Regions from separate parts of the Homo sapiens genome. Here region 1 is linked to region 2. Evidence: promoter capture Hi-C in 16 types of primary human blood cells and fetal thymus (Javierre and others, 2016). All regions are on one chromosome and are shown on one strand. The core of a region is centred on a gene start or on the middle of the fragment in contact, and the rest is flanking DNA. Distances in the headings are between cores, read along the strand shown. Region 1 holds the start of KICS2 (KICSTOR subunit 2). Region 2 holds the start of HELB (DNA helicase B).

Evidence for each region. Contacts are between HindIII fragments. The CHiCAGO score rates a contact against its expected background, and 5 or more counts as called.
Region 1: a contact is called between the fragment with the promoter of KICS2 here and the fragment with the promoter of HELB in region 2, in 1 of 17 cell types (total CD4 T cells). The highest score is 5.2, in total CD4 T cells.

Annotation. Positions count from the first base shown.
Region 1 is chr12:64,220,021-64,227,280 of GRCh38, forward strand. KICS2 (KICSTOR subunit 2) reads right to left here and starts at 2,276. Exons shown (of 3, transcript NM_152440.5): 1 at 1,983-2,276. The coding sequence starts at 2,217. LOC124902952 (a long non-coding RNA gene) reads left to right here and starts at 2,329. Exons shown (of 2, transcript XR_007063347.1): 1 at 2,329-2,523. RefSeq lists enhancers at 1,800-1,919, 1,990-2,049, 2,084-2,678, 2,160-2,249, 2,400-2,589 and 1 more. The HindIII fragment of the contact is 7,597 bases long and covers 1-6,370 here.
Region 2 is chr12:66,299,533-66,306,085 of GRCh38, forward strand. HELB (DNA helicase B) reads left to right here and starts at 2,961. Exons shown (of 13, transcript NM_001370285.1): 1 at 2,961-3,258; 2 at 5,199-5,618. The coding sequence starts at 3,072. RefSeq lists enhancers at 3,031-3,080, 3,141-3,220, 3,852-3,951, 3,982-4,291. The HindIII fragment of the contact is 5,857 bases long and covers 1-3,515 here.

The DNA.
Region 1 (7,260 bases), core at 1,026-3,525, 2.1 Mb before region 2:
GTACCCAAAAAAATGTGCAAAGATAAAATTTAAATTCTGGAACTTATGTTTACTGTACGTGTAAATAAGTTATGAAGCATTAAATATACCATTTTCAGAATATTTACTCAGAAATGAGGAGCCCACCTAGGAACGTAACAGTGCCTGGGCATGTTTCACAGCACCAAATGTTGTATAGGTCAGTTTCAAGGCATAGTCCTCATGCTCACCCATGCCAGCTGGGGTTCAAGCAGAACTAATCAATTTACACATTGAGGACCACTTTACAGAACCCAAGTCAGAGACAGTGAAGATCTTATACACACATTCTTACACACAGGGCAGCCAGTTCTGTTTACGTAAAAACCTGGCTCATTCAACTTAAAACTAGAGTAGCAGATTTTTTTAAATGGAGTCAATAAATAGACTTTAGAAAATTCAACTGAACCCACTCAGGTTATACGCAAAATTATATGTACATATATATTTTTCTGGAGAGTAAGTACACAGCTTTCATCAAATTTCCATGGATAAGTTAATAAAAAAAAAAAGCAAAGAATCATGGCACTTGAATCAGTCACCATTCTTTGAGGTGGGGGAGTCTAAAAACAACTGAAACTGCCTAAATATTACCTACCTTCAGTATTACAGCTAGAATCCACCCCATTTTCACATATATAAAAAACATATATCTGTATATATTATACATAAATTATAATTTTCATACACATTTTTAATAAGTTATATGAATGCAAACTCAATCTGAGAGTACAAGGGCAGATATTTTGGTTTCGACTCTATCATCTACCCAACATAACTGCATATATAATTTGCTAATCTATAGAAAGGGGAATAATAACACCATAGCAGCAACTGCAAATTTGTGAGAAATGCCATTGTAAAAAGGGGAGGAAAAAAATAAGGTGAAACTATCTGACCAGTTTTTGCTAATAAATTAGCATACTAAATAAGTATGTATAAATCAACATACTTGCTACAGCAATTACGAACTCAGGAAGCCCTGTCTCTTGAGTGTTTACTGAAAGCTCAATAAGATGTACATGGTCACCTTCAGGCAATATAAGGAAAGTAGGGGGCTGGTTAGGGAACGGGGGGGGGTGGATCAAAATGAAATCTACACCAATTTTACATTTCTATTCTCTGTATTTTATATACGTGTCCTTCATTCACATCAGACCTCACGCTTCTGAAAATTGAAGAGTCTAAAACAGGTCAAAGTACTGACTCTGAAACCCCTAGGATTCAAATATATTTATTTGTCATAATTAAGCAGTAATATTATTTTGTATGCATATTCCATGCCTTTTACATCTATTATTTCCTTCTCATCTACTTATACTTATTGCTTCTACTAGTAAAAATCAGTTGAATCAGCTCTTGAATCTTATTTCAGAGGCAAGATGTACATGAAGTGCTAAGAGTGTTTACCATTTTCCCCTTAAGTCTCTTCTTGCTAGTGTTAGGCATATTTCTTGCCTTTCCTGCCCAATATTCATTTATTACTTTAGTCATTAAATATGTATTGGGGGACTATGAAGACGGGGTAGGACTCTAAATGTGACTCTCGGGCCTTAACCTTAAGAGGCCACACAACAGTGTTCAGTAATAGAACTAGGTTGTTTTGCAAAGTTTTGCTCTTCTGGCTGCAGCGTCACTAATTAAAACAATGAAGACATAGTTTGGTTAACTTCTCATTTATGGCATCAATCCATGCACGAGGCAAAAGGGCAAACCCTTCGGTTTGGGTCACAGCCCTGCAAAGAGCATCTACCCAGTTCGCCAATCTATCAGCAGCGCAGGCCGGTGGGCGGGGCTTGTGGAAGCCCAGGGAAGGAAAGGAACGGTGGGAGGAGATCTGGGAATGCCGAGTCGAGCCTGCGACTAGAAGTGACACAGAGACGGGAAACCCAAGCCACTGCCGACTGGGGAATATACCCCCTTTACTTCCTCCTCAAGGGGCTCGGGGGGCGGGGCGGAGGTACCTAGTTTCTGCCCCAGGTAGGTGAGGCTGTGATAGACCTTCTCGGCCGCGGCCAGGTGCGCCAAGGCCGCCAGCAGCGACAGCCAGCTGCCCCCCGCGCTCTTGTTGGCCTCTCGTTCCTTCTCCACATTGTCCTTAGCCTTGTCGTAAGAGAAGATACCCAGGTGAGAGAAGAACGTCTCCAGCACCGCCTGTTCCACCGGGACCGGGGCGGCCAGCGGGATAGACTCCCCCATGCGAGCTGCGCCCCAGCTCGACCCACGTGGCTCTCCTCGGCCTCGCACTTCCGGGTTCTGAGGGAACGGGCTTGCGCACAAGCGTGCGTGCGCGTGACCGCCTCCACCGGCGGACTCGTGAGCGCGCCGCTGCCGGGACCGCTCCTGGGCCTTAGAGAAGACGCGGATAAGGGCCAAGGAAAGAGGGAGGTAGCGGTTGCTGAGCTCCTTCGGCGCTTCGGCTCCTGTAGCTCTGACTATTCGGACCGTCAAGGTAGAATAGGAGGCGGCCAGTTCCCCGCTCTAAGAAGTTGCCTGCGCTCTGAGGTGAGCTGACAGGCCCCTCTCTGTGTGGTTCGTCAGCGCTGGTGACGTCATGCAAACGTGACGTCAGCCCTGGCCAGAACATCTGGCCTGGGCTCTCCAGGCACCTCGCTGGGCCGGCTGGGAGATGGGGAAGTGCCTGGAGTTGTGCCCACACTCACAGCAGGGACCCTAGTCAGCCCTGACACCTTCTACACCAACTCATGGAAGTGATTTGCTGAGATTAGAAGACTGACGGGTAAAGGTTGATCTCCTTCCCATTGCCTAGTTTTCATCACATCACACACCACCGGTTAACTCTCACCTGTATCCCGTTCTAGTTCTCCCGGGTCTGTGTTAGCCCTGCAACTAATAAGTAGAGCCCCTGGCCCAAACTGCATTAACCTTCCTTAAAAAGTTATCTTTTTTTTTTCTTTTTTTTTGAGACGGAGTCTCGCTCTGTCGCCCAGACTGGAGTGCAGTGGTGAGATCTCGGCCCACTGCAGCCTCCACCTCCCGAGTTCAAACGATTTTCCTGCCTCAACCTCCCTAGTAGCTGGGATTACAGGCCAGCGCCACCACACCTGGCTAATTTTCGTATTTTTAATAGAAACAGGGTTTCACCATGTTAGCCAGGCTGGTCTCAAACTCCTGGCTCAAGCAATCTTCCCACCTCAGCCTCCCAAAGTTTTGGGATTACAGGTGTGAGCCACCACCCCTGGCCAGAATGAAGAATACATTAATGTAAATTGTGCACGTTGTCATTTAGAATAATTACAAGTTCCTTTGGCATTTAAGAAACCCCATGAACCCGGCTCATACTTGTATGTCCACTACTTTGAAACACTACCCACTACTCAATAGTTTTTTCCTTTCTTCTTTGTGCATACTTATTTTATGCTTCTTAGTCACACTATTTAATCGCATATATTTACATATCTCTTTCCCCAAGTGGTGAGATCCCTAGGGTACAGTAGGGTTCACTTACAGTTATAATCTTTTCATATTGGACGGCGCAGCCATGTTTGTTGAACAAATGAGAGAATTGCCTATTTTCGTTTTTTCTCAAACTAGAGCTGTTCTGCCATCATCACTACCTTTTAAAGGAAATCCCACTAATCTAATTTTAATGAATAGGTATTGTGCACCTGTTCCCTATACTCAAGAATGTAATTGGATAAGATCAACCCTGTTAACAATGATACAAGGCAGTTTTTTTTTTTTTTGGTTGTTTTATTTTGTTTTGTTTTTGGACAGGGTCTCACTCTTTCCCCCAGGCTGGAGTTTTCCCCAGGCTGGAGTGCAGTGGCATGACCTCGGCTCACCGCAACCTCCGCTTTCCAGGCTTTAGTGATTCTCCTGCCTCAGCCTCTGGAGTAGCTGGGATTACAGGCCAGTGCCACCACACCTGGCTAATTTTCGTATTTTTAACAGAATTGGGGTTTACACCATGTTGGCCAGGCTGGTCTTAAAATCCTGACTTCAAATGGTCTGCCCGCCTCGGACTCCCAAAGTGCTGGGATTACAGGCATGAGCCACTGCGCCCAGCTTCAAGGAAGATTTTTTTTTTTTTTTTTTTTTTGAGACAGAGTTTTGGTCTTGTTGCCCAGGCTGGAGTGCAGTGGAGCCATCTCAGCTCACTGCAACCTCCACCTGCCGGATTCAAGTGATTTTCCTGCCTAAGGCCAGCCTCCAGAGTAGCTAGGATTACAGGCATGTGCCACCACGCCCTGCTAATTTTGTATTTTTAGCAGAGACGGGGTTTCTGCATGTTGGTCAGGCAGGTCTGGAACTCCCGACCTCAGGTGATCCTCCCGCCTCAGCCTCCCAAAGTACTGGGATTGCAGGCGTGAGCCACCGCGCCTGGCCAAGGCAGATTTTTAAACATGACAAAGGTGAAAGACAGAGAGTGAAGGGAGCAATCATACCATTTTGGAAGAATTAAGGAGGCTTCCTGGAGGAGAGTGTGATGATTCTTGATGAATAAATAGAGGTAATCAAAAAAAAGTGTGGTACTATCACCAAAACCAATAGACAATAAAAGAGATTATAAAACTCATAAACATACCCACATAATATAAGAATTCCTTAGGTAATGAAGGTGACATTATAAATTAGTGGGGAAGAAACATACTCAATTAGTAGTGAAGGAAATATGCTTAACCATGGGAAAATAGACTGTCACCTTGTTTCCTGAAGAAAAAAAAAGTGTAAAACACAAAACCAGAAACCAGAAAAAATACAAGTGACTAATTGATCTAAAGATAGAGAAGGACCTTCTAAATATAAAAGAATTGGAAGAACTTAAAAAGGATGAGATTGATTTGACTGTATAAAATACCTAATGTAGATGACGGGTTGATGGGTGCAGCAAACCACCATGGCACATGTATACCTATGTAACAAACCTGCCCCATGTATCCCGAAACTTAAAGTATAATAATTAAAAAAAAATGACATCCTGGGAAAAAGATATCTGTAATGTATGTCAGACAAAGGTTTAATGTACTTAACATATCAAGATCTCTTACTAACCAACAAGAATAAAAGGACATGAATATATAAGTCCCAAAAGAAATATAAAACTCAAGTAATTCTTTTTTAATGCTCAACCTCACTAGTAATCAAAGAAATGCAAAATAAACTATATTCTATGTTTCATCTACCAAACTAGCAAAAGAAACTGTTTAATTTTATTTCAATGGTTTTGGGGGTACAGGTGGTTTCTATAGGAATAAGCTCTGTAGTACTGATTTCTGAGAGTTTTGGTGCACCTATCACCTGAGCAGTGTACACTATACCCAGTGTGTGGTCTGTTATCTCTCACCCCTCTCCCAACCTTCCCTGCGAGTCCCCAAAGTCCATTATATCATGCTTATGCCTTTGCATTCTCATAGGTTAGCTCCCAAAAGAAACATTTTAATTGCTGATAAATGTGCAATAAACATCTCCCCATTTTCCCCACCCCCAAGACCCTGGCAATCATGATTCTACTCTCTGCTTCTATGAGTTCAACTTTTTTAGATTCGCCATATAAGTGAGGTCATAGAATATTAGTCTTTCTGTGTCTGGCTTATTTCACTTAATGTAACATCCTCCAGGTTTATCCATGTTGTCACAAATGTCAGAATTTCCTTACTTTTTATGGGTAAGTATTCCATTGTCTTGTATTTACTACATTTTGTTTATCTCTTCACTCATTGACAGACACATTGTTTCTGTATCTTGACTATTGTGAGTAATCCTTTGGATATAAATGCAGAAGTGGAATTGCTGGATCGTATGATAGTTCTATTTTTAATTTTTTGAGGAACCTCCATACTATTTTTCTGTAATGGCTGTATCAATTTATATTCCCACCAGCAGTGTACAAGGGTTCCTGTTTCTCTACACCCTCAGCAACACTTGTTATTGCTTATCCTTTTTTTTTTTTTTTTAATAGAGACAGTCTTGCTGTGTTGCTTAGGCTGGTCTCAAACTTTTAGTGTCAAGCGGTCCTCCCACCTCAGCCTCCCAAAGTGCTGGAATTACAGGCATGAGCCACCCCGCCTGGCCATTTTTTCGATAATAGCCATTCTAACAGGTGTGAGGTGATATCTTATGGTTTTGACTTGCATTTTCATGATGATTAGTTATGTTGAGTTTGTTTTAATGTATCTGTTGGCTATTTTTATGTCTGCTTTGGAAAACTGTCTATTCGCATCCTTTGCCCAATTTTTAATTGGGCAATTTGTTTTCTTGCTCTTGAGTTGTATGAGTTCCTTACGTATTTTGGATATTAACTCCTTACCAGATATATGGTTTGCAAATATTTTCTCCCATTGCATAGGTTACCCTTTCATTTTGTTGATTGTTTCCTTTGCTATGCAGAAGCTTTTTAGTTTGATGTAGTCCAACTTGTTTATTTTTGCTTCTGTTGCCTATACTTTGGGTGCATATCTGAAAAATCATTGCCAAGACCAATGGCAAGTGGCTTTCCCCTTATATTTTTTTCTAGGAGTTTTATAATTTCAGGTCTGATATTTAAGTCTTTAACCCATTTCAATATAATTTTTGTGGAGGGTGTAAAGTAAGGGTATAATTTTACCCTTTTGCAGGTAATCTACCTTAGATACCTAGTTTTTCCAACACTATTTATTGAAGAGACCATCCTTTACCTATTGTGTATTCTGGATGCCCATGTCAAAGATTAGTTGACCATATATGTGTGGGTTTATTTTTAAGCTCTGTATTCTTTTCCATTGGTCTCTGTCTGTTTTTATGCCAGTACTACACTGTTTTGATTAGAATAGCTCTGTAATATAATTTGAAAACAGGGAGTGTGATATCTCTAGCTTTGTTGTTGTTTCTCAAGATTGCCTTGATTGGCCAGGTGCGGTGGCTCACGCCTGTAATCCCAGCACTTTGGGAGGCTGAGGTGGGCAGATCATGAGGTCAGAAGATCGAGACCATCCTGGCTAACACAGTGAAACTGTGTCTCTACTAAAAATACAAAAAAATTAGCCAGGTGTGGTGATGGGTGCCTGTAATCCTAGCTCCTCAGGAGGCTGAGGCAGGAGAATGGCATGAACCCGGGAGGCGGAACTTGCAGTGAGCCGAGATTGCGCCACTGCACTCCAGCCTGGGCAACAGAGCGAGACTCTATCTCAAAAAAAAAAAAAAAAACCAGATTGTCTTGATTATGTGAGGACTTTTGTGGTTCCATATGAATTTTGGGATTGTTTATTTCTATGAAAAAAATGCCATTGGAAGTTTGATAGA
Region 2 (6,553 bases), core at 1,711-4,210:
CCCCTTTCTGTCCTATCATGTTTCCATCTCCTCTGTGGGTAACTATTTTCATCAATTTCTTCCCCCTCCACCTCCCCCTCCTCCTCCTCCTTCTCCTCCTTCACCTTCTTCTGGCTCACTGCAGCCTCAACCTCCTGGGCTCATGCAATCCTCTCACATCAGCCTCCAGGGTAGCTGGACTACAGGCACACGCCACTGTGTCTGGCTAATTTATTTATTTTTTTGAGACAAGGTCTTGCTATTTTGCCCAACCTGGTCTGAAACTCCTGGGCTCAAGCAATCCTCCTACCCTGGCCTCTCAAAGTGCTGGAATTAGAGGCACGAGCCACCATTCCTGGCTATTTTCATTAACTTGTGGTTTATCTTTCATGTGATTTTTTTTTTTTTCGTAACACTGACACATACAAATAAAATGATATGCATTGTTTTACATCTTGCTTTCTCTAATTTAAAACAGTATCTTGGAAACTACTCCCTACCAATTTGTGGCAATCTTTCTTTCTTTTTATAAAAAAAATAGCTGAAGAATACTCCATTGTGTGGATGTACTACAGTTTATTTCATTAGTCTCTTGCTGTTCAACATCTCTGCTATTTCCAATAATTTGCTATTACAAAAATCACACAGTAGATAACCTATGTCTATGTTGTTTTTTGTTTTGGGAAGTGTAGCTTCAGGGTAGATCCAGGTATCTCAATTTTAGAACACATCCCAAGTGATTTTGATGCACAGCCAGATTTGAGTACCACTGCTTACTATGTATGGTAAAGATGGTATCCAGAAAGCCAGAATTGTTAACTTTTTTTTTAAAAGAATGAGAAAACAATAGGTAAAGAAGTAAGATTCTTATCATCCTAAATTCCTATCTACACTATCCAATAAAATGCAATTGAACTATATGAATAGAAGCTGAACATATAGTGACCAGGTGCAATGGCTCACGCCTGTAATCCCAGCACTTTGGGAGGCCGAGGCCGGCAGATTACTTGAGTTCAGGAGTTCGACACCAGTCTGGACACCATGGCGAAACCCTGTTTCTACAAAAAATTGCAAAAAATTAGCCGGGCTTAGTGGTGTGAGCCTGTGGTCCCAGCTACTTGAGAGGCTGATATGGGACGATCACTTGAGCCTGCTGGGAGGTCAAGGCCTCAGTGAGCTGAGATGGTGCCACTATAGACCTGTACCAAAAAAAAAAAAAAAAAAAAGGGAGGAGGAGTTGAACACCTGTGCTGTGTAGTGGCTCACATCTGTAATCCTAGCACCTTGGTAGACTGAGGCAGGAGGATCACTTGACTTTAGGAGTTCAAGACCAGCTTGAGCAACACAATGAGACCTTGTCCCCCCACCCCCCAAAAAAAAAGAGAGAAAGAAAAAAAAGTTTAACATCTAGAGATCTAGAGTTGATTCTTGTGCCCAAGTCATCATGTTGGTAACAAGAATATCCCATGTATATACTCATAAGTGACCCAGATTTGGGAAGCCAATGATAAGTTGCAGTTTAGATATGCTGAGTCTTAAGTAGCCAAGGGGCATCCAGTAGTGACTGACAGTGTTTAGGCAGTTGTTTGTATGGTTTGGAGATCAGATTAGGCTGAGTCATTAGCATGTAGGTGAAGGATGATTGAGGAAAGGATTATAGAGCAAGAAGATGCTTGGGATGGAGCCTTGGGGAATAACAGTACTTACAGGCAAGCAGAGGGGTCCAAGACTGTAAATAGCCAGAAAGGAGAAAAATCTGAGAAGGCAAGCTGCAAAAGCCCCGGCAGCAGAATGCTACAAGAAGAAAATACTTATCAGTATCAAATACTGCTGAGAGGTCAGGTAAAACAAAGGCTGAAAAGTATCCACTGGTTTTTGAAACGAAGAGGACAGTAAGTGTGACATTTGTCAGAGGAGATTCAATGTTGTGGTGGAAACAGTAGCCATGTGAATGTCAAAGGAATTCAACCTCATATAGCCAATCCTTGGAAACACTGGTGTTTTGTCAGCTGCAACAGTATTTCTTTTAAAAGCAACAAAAGTGGGCATTTTTCAATTGGTACCCAAAGGAAAAGAAATCAATTTTTATATTTTCTCCTATACATTTTTCTTAAATATTTGGTGCTAGTTGTCGTTTATATATATTTAAATATAGCATCAGGTGCTTTTGGATTTAGTAAATAGTGTGTGTTTAGTTATTTCAGGAATAATCCCAAAATAAACAGTATCAATACAGTAATGTAGTAATATATTTATGGTATTTCTTAAATAGTACCAAGACTTTCAAGTACCATCCTCATCAAGTAAGAGAATCATAGCCCCATAATAGTTTTTAAAACCACGTTCCTTTCTCTTCTATTTCCCTTCTCCTATTCCTGTCTATACTCTGGGCTGCAAAGAGACACTTTTGCCCCACTGTCAGCAGGTAGCAGCCCAGCTTAAATAAGTTTGGGAGACCAGGGTGTACTCACAGAGGAAAGGATAAAAATAACTTTGAATGTTATCTAATCCAGTGGTGTCCAAACCTAGCTGAGCATCAAAATGGACAGCCCGGAATGTACATTAAAAAGACAGAATTCTAGGTCCCTGCCCTAGATCCGATTCCAGAAGGGCATCTGCTATACTTTCGTTTTGGGAAGGTTGGGGTGGGGGTTGCTTTTCCAGGTTCTTCAAGCTCAGCAGAAGTGGACTTTCTCCCCGTTCTCTCTCCGCAGGAGATGCCGTGCACTGGCGGTTCTGCAGGTGCCACGCCTGTCACTCCCCAGCGCTGATTTCGTCCCAGCACCTTCCTGATAATCACCGCCCAGCACCAGGCTCCAAAAGGAGCGGAAGCCCCGCCCATCTCCCAGCCCCTCGCTCTCCCTTCCCCGCCCCTAACCCGCCTTGCCCCGCCCCTTCCACATGCCCTCCCCTCGGCAATTCCTGGAAACTTGGGGCGGAGCTTCGCTGCCTTTCAGGTTTTATGTACGCTGGCGGCCGCCAGGCCGTTCCCGGAAGTTGATGGCCTTACAGTCGTAGAACTGATTGGCTGATCATGACCATGCAGTTAGCCAGGGTTTTCCCGAGTTGTTTGGGTTGAGTTCAGGAGAAGCATGGCCAGGTCGAGTCCGTACCTGCGCCAACTTCAGGGACCTCTGCTCCCACCCAGGGATCTGGTGGAGGAGGACGACGACTACCTAAACGACGACGTGGAGGAGGATGAAGAGTCCGTGTTCATCGACGCCGAGGAGCTCTGCAGTGGGGGCGTAAAGGCTGGCAGCCTCCCCGGGTGCCTCCGCGGTGAGGAAGGCGTCTGCCCGGGGGATGGGGTTGGAGGGTCCAAAGTAGCGCTTCCCATTCTGGCTTTGCCCTGAGCAAGGCACCCAGTCGTGCTAACAGATTTAGCTTATCAGTGGTCTAGCTGCTTCATCCTACCAAGGGTAAAATTATGACTATAATAATAGCAGTGACTTTAACTGGACACATACTATGTGGTTTTTTTTTTTTTTTCTTTTTTTGAGCAGCAGCAAGATTTATTGCAAAGAGCGAAAGAACAAAGCTTCTACAGTGTGGAAGGGGACCCGAGCGGGTTGCCCTTTTTTTTTTTTTTTTTTTTTAAAATTATTCTCATTTTAATGGTCGTCCTTTAATTTAATGTACCTTTAATGTAAGGTAGTTTTACGCTTAAGGAAACAGTGGATGTTGAGTCTCTATTTCCACCCAGAATCGGAACTTTTATTTTTCCTTCTGACCACTTATCCTCAAGTTCTATAGAATGAGAACTTGTAATTATTATCCTATATTGCCTGGAGTCAAATACGTGGTTCTTCCTCAGCTTCTTGGAAAAACAAAACAGTCCGGGCGCGGTGGCTCACGCACTTTGGGAGGCCGAGGCAGGTGGATCACTTGAGGTCAGGAGTTCGAGACCAGCCTGACCAACATGGTGAAACCTGTCTCTAGTAAAACAACAACAACAACAACAAAACTACAAAATTAGCCGGGCGTGATGTCGCACACCTGTAATCCTAGCTACTTGGGAGGCCGAGGCAGGAGAATTGCTTGAACCCAGGAGGTGGGGGTTGCAGTGAGCTGAGATCACACCATTGCACTCCGGCCTGGGCAACAAGAATGAAACTCCATCTCAAAAAACGAAAAGGAAAGAAAAGAAAAAGAAAAACGAAACACAAGGAACACCTCAGTGCACAGATGATTGTTAATTGGTGTTAGTAACCTTGTGGTTCGGGTAAACCTTGTATAAGTAGTTTCCTGTGCTATGAGGTAGTTTCCTGTGCTATAAGTTATACCTGTTATGTATACTTTGTGACTGAGACTTAAAATATTTTAATGTGCCGACCGGTGCTGTTCAGTAGAACTTTCCATGATCATGGCAGTGTTTTATATCTGCACTGTCTGGTATAATAGCCACTAGCCATATGTAGCTGTTTAGAACTTGAAATCCAGCTAGTGTAACTGAGGAGAGAAATTTTAAGTTTTATTACATTTTAATTTAAATAGCCACGTGGGTGGACAGCGCAGATTTAGGCAGAAAAGTTTCAAGTATTTGTGGAGGGCTTAGTCGTCATTCTAAAGTATCATCAACTGGCTAGCATGTTTGGTGCTGGGAAAACCTAGAGAAATAAAATAACAAGGTTGCAGTCTTAATGAAGCTTACCCTCTAGTGTATTAAACAAACATTCTTTAATCACAGAAGTAACTATAATGTTACTAAATGCTTAGAAGGAATGCTAAATAGTGCTTTGAGAGGTTTTATACATGAGATTCAGGGAAGACTTTTCTAAGTAAGTGATAGTTAAGCTGAGGTCTGTAGTAAATGTAGTAAACAGTAAAGGGGAGATCAGTTAAGGCAGATGGAATAACTTGAGTGAAGGGCCATGGCATTTTAAAGAAACTGCATGAAGGCCAGTATTGGCTGAAGTCAAGAGTAGCAGAGAGGGGACTGATTTTAGAAGAGGAACAGCAGACACCTGCTGTGTACTGTGCTTGCGTTTTGGAATACAAAGACAAACGAAACAGTGTCCTGTTTTAGTATTTACAGTGTAGTGGAGGGAGACAGAAAAAGAGGTAGGCAGAATGCAGTGTTACAGGCACCCTACCAGACATCTTTAGAGAGTGCTGTAGGGAGATTAAAGATAGTGGTAAGTTTGATGAAACTTTGAGGAAACGGTTTCTAAATAATCTCCAGAGTTAACTTTTGTGGGTTTTTGTTTGTTTTTTTTTAGTTTCTATTTGTGATGAAAACACACAAGAGACATGTAAAGTGTTTGGACGTTTTCCGATAACAGGTGCTTGGTGGAGAGTGAAGGTACAAGTAAAGCCTGTGGTGGGATCAAGGAGCTATCAATATCAAGTTCAAGGATTTCCGTCTTACTTTTTGCAGTCTGATATGTCACCACCAAATCAAAAACATATCTGTGCTCTCTTTCTTAAAGAGTGTGAGGTCTCCAGTGATGATGTTAATAAATTTTTAACATGGGTAAAGGAGGTATCAAACTACAAAAACCTAAACTTTGAAAATCTTAGGGAAACACTAAGAACTTTCCACAAGGAAACTGGAAGGAAAGATCAAAAGCAGCCTACACAGAATGGTCAGGAAGAGTTGTTCCTAGACAATGAGATGAGTCTTCCTCTGGAAAACACAAGTAAGTGTGATTTTTATCATCAACTTTCAGTGTAATTGACATACTTAATAACTACAGTGTTTAAAATGTTACCACTAGCATAGTATTCTTTTTAAAAATCCATTTGGTGAAAAATGTGTTTATGTTGCTTTTGGAGTATGCCATTGACATTTCAGGTTTCTCATCTGTAGCATGAAGGGATTATATGAGCTGATCTTTAAAATCTTCCAGTTCCTTTCCACCTCTAAAACTGTGATTTTAATCTCTCTTTCTAACTTTTGTATTCACAGCGATTACCTTGAATCATTAATAAAAAAAAATTCAGTTGCTGGCCAGGTGTGGTAGCTGCTCACGTCTGTAATCCCACTTTGGGAGACTGAGGCAGGAGGATCACTTGAGCGCAGGAGATCGAGACTAGCCTGAGCAATGTAGTGAGACCTTGTCTCTACAAAAAATTTTTTAAAAATTAGCCAGGTGTGGTGATATATACCTGTAGTCCCAGCTACTTGGGAGGATGAGGCAGGAGGATCACTTGAGCCTAGGAAATGGAGGCTGCAGTGAGCCATGATTGCACCACTGTACTCCAGCCTAGGTGAGAGTGAGACACCGTCTCAGTTAAAAAAAAAAAAAAATCAGTTGTAAATGATTCTGTTTAAAGAGGTAGAGAAGAACGACAAGGATGTGAATAATACATTTAGGAAATACTTCAGTCCAAAATGGTTTCAAGTAATTTTTAATATGATTTGTTATCTGGATATTCATATATATGGAATATTTCATTTCCTAATTGTATCAAATAAATTTGATGGTACATCAATGAATGATTTCAATGACAAAAGATTATGATTATAGAAAATGATTATGAAGGTTACTATGTAAATTATTTTATATCCTTAGCTTTAAATTTATCTTTATATAATTGAGTCAGAATTTTTATTCTGTTATAGTGCAGGCAG